2 separate regions of the Homo sapiens genome follow, and region 1 is linked to region 2. Evidence: promoter capture Hi-C in human tissues and cell types (Jung and others, 2019). All regions are on one chromosome and are shown on one strand. Each heading gives the region's core, a stretch centred on a gene start or on the middle of the fragment in contact. The rest is flanking DNA. Distances are from core to core; before and after follow the strand shown.

Region 1 (2,989 bases), core at 150-2,649, 51 kb before region 2:
AGCCTAAGTAAACCTGCTAATTACTGTTCTAGAAAGAGAGCAGGAAGAGAGAAAAAGAAGTGGGGTAGGAAAGAGTGGATGGGGGAAGTAAATTAAGTGAAATTTAACAGACTTCTCTATTCCAGCAGGACTTTTCAAAAAGCTAAGGACATTGTGAATCTACCCTGCAGGAGTATCTTCAGCACTTCCCAAACTTGCTCGGCCATGGAACGCTTTTTGCAGGGTATTTTGTGGGACTGCTTTACGGAGCTCACTTTGGGGACTATGGACCTTGTCCAAGCTCTCATTTTGAAAATGGTGAATTGCACTTCAGTATGATTAAAAGACTCGCCCCCAAGTTCACACCACTCTTAGTGATTAAGCCAGGCAAGACGCTCCGTCTCTTCCCTCCCAGGTCAGCCCAGCCCAGCCCCTGACCCCATCCTCTCACAGAGAAACCACCACTTTCCCCACCAGTGAGACTCGGCTTCCTCTGACCACAGGGCCCAGAACAAGGGTTTGTTTGACATCAAGATGGCTCCAACAGAACCCCCGCTGGTGTAGCTGATGACATTGGCTGGGATGTGCCAGCCCTCCTTGTCTTCTCATCCAGGAAGCAGGAGTGGGAGAGAGTCTGGGGCCCAGTGACCCCAGGGCTTGGGCAGTTTCCCAGTCCCAGTATGTGAGTAGCCAATGACCCCCATAGTTCAACAAGCAGCCTTCCCAGTAACATTCCTGAGACGCCCCAGAGAGCAAAGCAAGCTCAGTCTACTCTGTTTATAAAGTTGGGCAAGAAAACCTCCTAACTTGATGTGGTTCCCTAGGGGGGCAGATTCTGGGCTAGGAAGGAGGCTGGGGATGTCGATAAGAGCAACTTTAGCTGTATCTGCGCCAATGGAACTTTTCACAATAAGAATGTATTCCTGTAGTTCCTGTATCATTAAAAATAAATACATGTTTAAATATGAGTCAGGAAAGATCTCAATCATATGGGAAAACAATGGAGAAAAAGAGTTTAGAAGGAAATATGCTCAGATGTTGAGATTCATTGCCTCTGCGAGGTGAGTTTTTTTTAAATTGTTTTATATTTTCTAAAACTTGCACACACACAATGTTAATACATAATCGGAATTTTCATAGATAATCAGAAAAATAAAACAATCAGCCAAACAAGAAAGAAGCAAATAAGGAAGGTGCTGGAACTTTGGGGGCCACGTTTGGATTTGGAGGCTTTCATCGACACGCTTCAAAGGAAGTGCTCAGAAATACTATTGAGGTAGGATAGATGCACATCCAGCATGCCCAACAAGCCAGTATCCCCCAGTACCCAAGCCACAAGCTCCCAGAGAGGCACAGGCACCCGCTCTCACCGTTCATTGCGGGCATGAATGCCAGGTCAAAAATCTTCTCCACCAGCACCTCCATGAGGCCAATCTGCAGAGGAAGAAGGAGGACAGAGCCTGGGCAGGGGGTTTGCTCAGCTCCAGAGGGCCCCTTGGGTCTGCTCCCCTGGCTCAAGGTGGAGACACAGACCTGCTCTGGGAGAGTCTAGGTTCTGGCAGTCAGAACCCCTGAGACCCCAGAATTTCTCACCGGCAGCCTTAAGGTGCCCCCCATCAACTTGCACATTGTGCAGATGGGCAGACTGAGGCCCAGCATGGGTGGTGGCCCAAGGCCCCTATGAAGCAGGGATTGAGGGAGGCCTAGTTCCTCCCCTGGGAGGCACAGAGCACAGGTTTCAGGGTGGCCTGGCCCCGATGGCACTGTCATGGCATCACAGAAGTCCCAATGGCCCTGGAGCCAACACCCCAGGTTCCCATCCCAGCTCAGTCTCCGTGGGCCTCTGGGCAGGCTCCTTCACCTCTCTAACCCTCAGCTTCCTCAGCTGTAAAATGGGTCAGTGAGCTGAGTTTGCAAGGATGCGGTGAGGATGGTGGGTAGATCACGTAAAACTCCTGGCCTTGAGCCTTTTCATATGTTACCTCCCTTAACTTCTCTAAGCCTTGGTTTCCACATCTGAAAACAGGAGTGAGTAACCCTTGCCTCATAGGGTGGTTATAAAAATCAGACATAAGCCCCTATATGTAACATGCCTGATGTTCCAGTCTGCAGAGGGTGAGGGCATGGACTCACTTTCCGGCAGTGCCTCTTCCTAGCTCTGTTGCCTTGGGCAAGTCACTTGAGCTTACCTTCCTTATTTGGAAGAATGGGTGTAATAATAATACCCAAATCATAACACGGTGGTAAGGATTAAATGAGAAAACCTCATTAAAAGAGAAAAAAAAGCATAATTCAGTGCCTAGGGCCCATCTCGATAGCTTCATTAATTCATTAATTTTACACTGTCAGCCCCTTTCTTCACTTGGAGTCCAGAGATTTCAGTTCTAATCCCAACTCTGCCCCAACCAGCTGGGAAGCCTTGGGCAGTTTATCCTTATAAAATGAAGCTGGCAAGATCGGCTTCACAGGCTGTAGCTTTTTGGGTTAGAAAAGCTATAAAATTAGCAACACAATGAATGGGTTTGACTTTTTCTGCACATGTGGAGATCTCATCCAAGCTTGTCCCAGAAAGCTAGCAGATGCTTAGTTGTCAATTTATAAAAAGCGGAGGTGGGGGGGTGGGGAGGAAGGAGTGTTTCTGAAGCCTTAGGTGGGGGTGGGGCACCCAAGAGTGAACAAAGAGATAAAACAGGACCCAACGCTAGAATGTGAGCATCTCAGATTTCTGGACCCTTGGAAAAGCAGAATTCCACAACCCAGGGGCAAGAAGGGAGGTTAGAAATGAACTCAAATTGTATTCATTTTACAGATGGGGAAACTGAGGCTCAGAGTGGGTTGATATCGCTCAAGGTCACACAGGAGTCAGTGGGCTCCTAACTCCAGAAGGAAAGTGGTCCTGTAGGACAAGGCTGCCCACTGTGCCTCCCCACCCTGAAATGGAGCGATTTGGGCCAAGTGGCCCCCCATGGGGCAGCCAGTTAACATGGGACAGCACCCGAGGCAGAGTAGA
Region 2 (2,957 bases), core at 12-2,511:
CTGAGACCGAAAGGGGTAGGGGACTAGACCAAGGCCACAGAACTAATCAGAGACAGTCAGAATTCAAGCCTGAGTCCATCTGACATAAAAATCTTCATCCTCAGAGGCCCAGTGAGCCTGGCCGGGTGTCTGGAGTGACAGCTGCAGACAGAGGGGCTTCCCCCTCCAGGACAGCAGGATGAGAGCTTTGTTTCCAGCAGCTGCTTCCCACTGGCTCATGAGGCTGTTTCAGAAGGTCTAGCTGACTGGGGACACCCAACACTTAGACTTAACATGTCTTATCTTTCTCCTTCCCCCACCTCCACCCCAAATCTTGTTGAAAAAGGGAATGGGGTGGCAGGTGGGGGCATGGCTAATCTGCTAAGTTCACAGAGTGGGATTTTTCTTTAAGCAGTTCCGTATTTGCCCACCCAATCACATATCCATCTATGCCCACCCATCACTCCTGCTTAAACCCTTCAGTGGCTCCCCGCTGCCCTGGGTTGAAACCCAGGCTTCTTGCCATTACCCACAAAATCCCTGCCTGCCTTTTTGACCTCCTTGAGCTTAAACATGCCAGGCCCCTTCCCACCCCAGGGCCTTTGCACATGCGGTTCCTTGTTAGGAAGGCTCCTCCCTGCTTCTTTGCATGGCTGACTCCTTATCATTGAGATTCCGGATAAACATTGCCTCCCTGGAGAGGCCTCCGTCCTTCACTTTGTCTAAAGAAATCCGTCTGTCACTAAACATCACGCAGAATATTTACTTTAAGGTGCTGATCTCCATTTGCAATTATGCATCTGTTTGTGTCCTTATTTCTCTTCCCTGTAAACTCCATGAAGGCAGGGACCATGTCTAAGGCCTCTGTGCGTGGTTGTGTGTCAGAAGGGGTCCCTGCTGAGGGGGCAGGGGATAGAAATTCAGCAGCATGTCACTGGCCAGGAGAAAAATGGGCACTCCTGGAACTCTCTCCATAGGATCATCCTATGGACAGGGATCCCCTGCCCACCCCTCCGGCTGTGAATATATACAAGTCTTTGCCTCTCTCTGGGCCCCAGATCTGTAACATGGTTTTTCTCTTCATCCACCCTCTTGGTACCCCCAGTCTCCTCCTAGGGTGAGTTCTTTCCGTGCCCATCATTCATATGGGAGGGCAGAAGGCAGTGGGGTCAACGGCTGGGCGTCAGGACAAGAGCAGGGCTGCCTCAGGCTGTCTTACCCTTGCTCCTGCAGCTCCACAAGGGGTAGGTGGGGGCTCCCGGCCTCCTGTCGGTTCCTCCACCCACGCGAGCTGAGGGGTGGCCCTTATATGCCCACGCGGCTCTGAGGACACAAAGGGGCCACGGCCGCCAGAATCCCGTCAATATGTCATGTCAGAAGCAAATTGCGGTTTTCCCCGAGGGCCTGGGCTAAGCCTTCCTCCTTGGAGGCGAGTAAGGGGACTGGGGTCGGTGCCCAGGAGTGGGAGTGAAGGCGTGGGGGCTGCACAGGCAGCCACCTCCCTCAGAGCCAGGGGTGAGGTGTGGGGCCCTGCCACCTACCCATTCAGCCACCTATTGGGCTCCCTCCAAGGCTCCCCAAGAGCCATTCCAATGGCACAGAATCTACCCTGCCTACCCCACCCCTTCCCCAGCGAAGGCCTACGGAGGGAAAGAAGGGACTTAAAGCTGCTGGGTCTTCTACCTTCCGCCACCCTCCCCCCGCACCAGGCCTCACATGGAGAGGGCTATGGGCCTGGAGACAGGGACTCTGGGCACACTTGGGGGAGGGGCATCAACTCCACCCCCACCTCCCAAGGCTCAGTATCCCCAGAGTTCCAGAGCTTTGTCCCCTTTCCGAGGCTGGTGCAGATGACAGCGACGAGAAATGCGTCCATTCATTCACTCCACTGCAGGCATTTGTGAGGCACCCACTGTCTGCTAGATGCTGGGGAAATCGCTGTAAATAAAAGAGACAATCTCCCCTGCCCTGAAGGAGCCGACTAGTGGAAATGCAATGCAATTTAAAACTTTCTAGTAGCCACATTTTTTGAAAGGCAAAAAGAAACAGGTGAAATTAATTATAATAGTCTAGTTTATTTACCCCCACCAAATCCAAAATATTCTCATTTAACATATAACCAACAGAAAATTATGAATGGGGTACTTTACTTTCTTTTTCTCATACTAAGTTTTCAAAATCTGCTTACAGCACACCAAGATTTGGACTTGTCGCACTTCAGGCAATCGCCTTGTATGGCTATTGGCTGTCATATTGGAAAGCACAGCTCTGAAAGGGACAAATAAGCACATAATACAGTAAGTTGGGGCTGGGCGCGGTGGCTCACGCCTGTAAACCCAGCACTTTGGGAGGCCGAGGCAGGCAGATCACAAGGTCAGGAGTTCAAGACCAACCTGACCAACATGGTGAAACTCCGTCTCTACTAAAAATACAAAAATTAGCTGGGTGTGGTGGCAGGAGCCTGTAGTCCCAGCTATTTGGGAGGCTGAGAGAGGAGAATGGCGTGAACCCAGGAGGCGGAGCTTGCAGTGAGCTGAGATCACACTCCAGCCTGGGTGACAGTGAGGGACTCTGCCTCAAAAAAAATAAAAAAAAAATTATATATATATATATATATATATATATATATATATATACACACACACACACACACAAATTAGCCAGGCTTGGTGGCGCATGCTTGTAATCCCAGCTACTTGGGAAGCTGAGGCAGGAAAATCACTTGAACCTGGGAGATGAAGGTTGCAACGAGCCAAAATTGCCTCACTGCACTCCAGCCTGGGCGACAGAGTGAGACTCCATCTCAAAAAAAATACAGTAAGTCGGAAGCTAACAACAAAAATAAAGCAGGGAAGGGGCTCAGGAGTGTGGGGAGTGGGTGCCATTTTCAATAGCGTGGTCAGGGAAGGCCTCATATTGAAGCAGGGGTGACTTTTGACCAGAAGGAGAAGAGGGAAGGAGTCAGATGGCTGTCTGGG

The links. Contacts are between HindIII fragments. The study calls those that stand out against the background at their distance.
Region 1: a contact is called between a fragment that was not itself captured here and the fragment with the promoter of BPIFB3 in region 2, in 1 of the 25 tissues and cell types used here (neural progenitor cells).

Annotation. Positions count from the first base shown.
Region 1 is chr20:33,103,234-33,106,222 of GRCh38, reverse strand. It overlaps BPIFB4 (BPI fold containing family B member 4), which reads right to left. Exons shown (of 18, transcript NM_182519.3): 16 at 1,350-1,413. Among named protein-coding and RNA genes, the nearest start is that of BPIFB4, 25 kb to the right of the region's middle. The HindIII fragment of the contact is 8,468 bases long and covers 1-2,989 here.
Region 2 is chr20:33,052,207-33,055,163 of GRCh38, reverse strand. It overlaps BPIFB3 (BPI fold containing family B member 3), which reads right to left and starts at 1,261. Exons shown (of 16, transcript NM_001376932.3): 1 at 1,199-1,261. RefSeq lists enhancers at 907-1,440, 1,441-1,975. The HindIII fragment of the contact is 12,456 bases long and covers 1-2,957 here.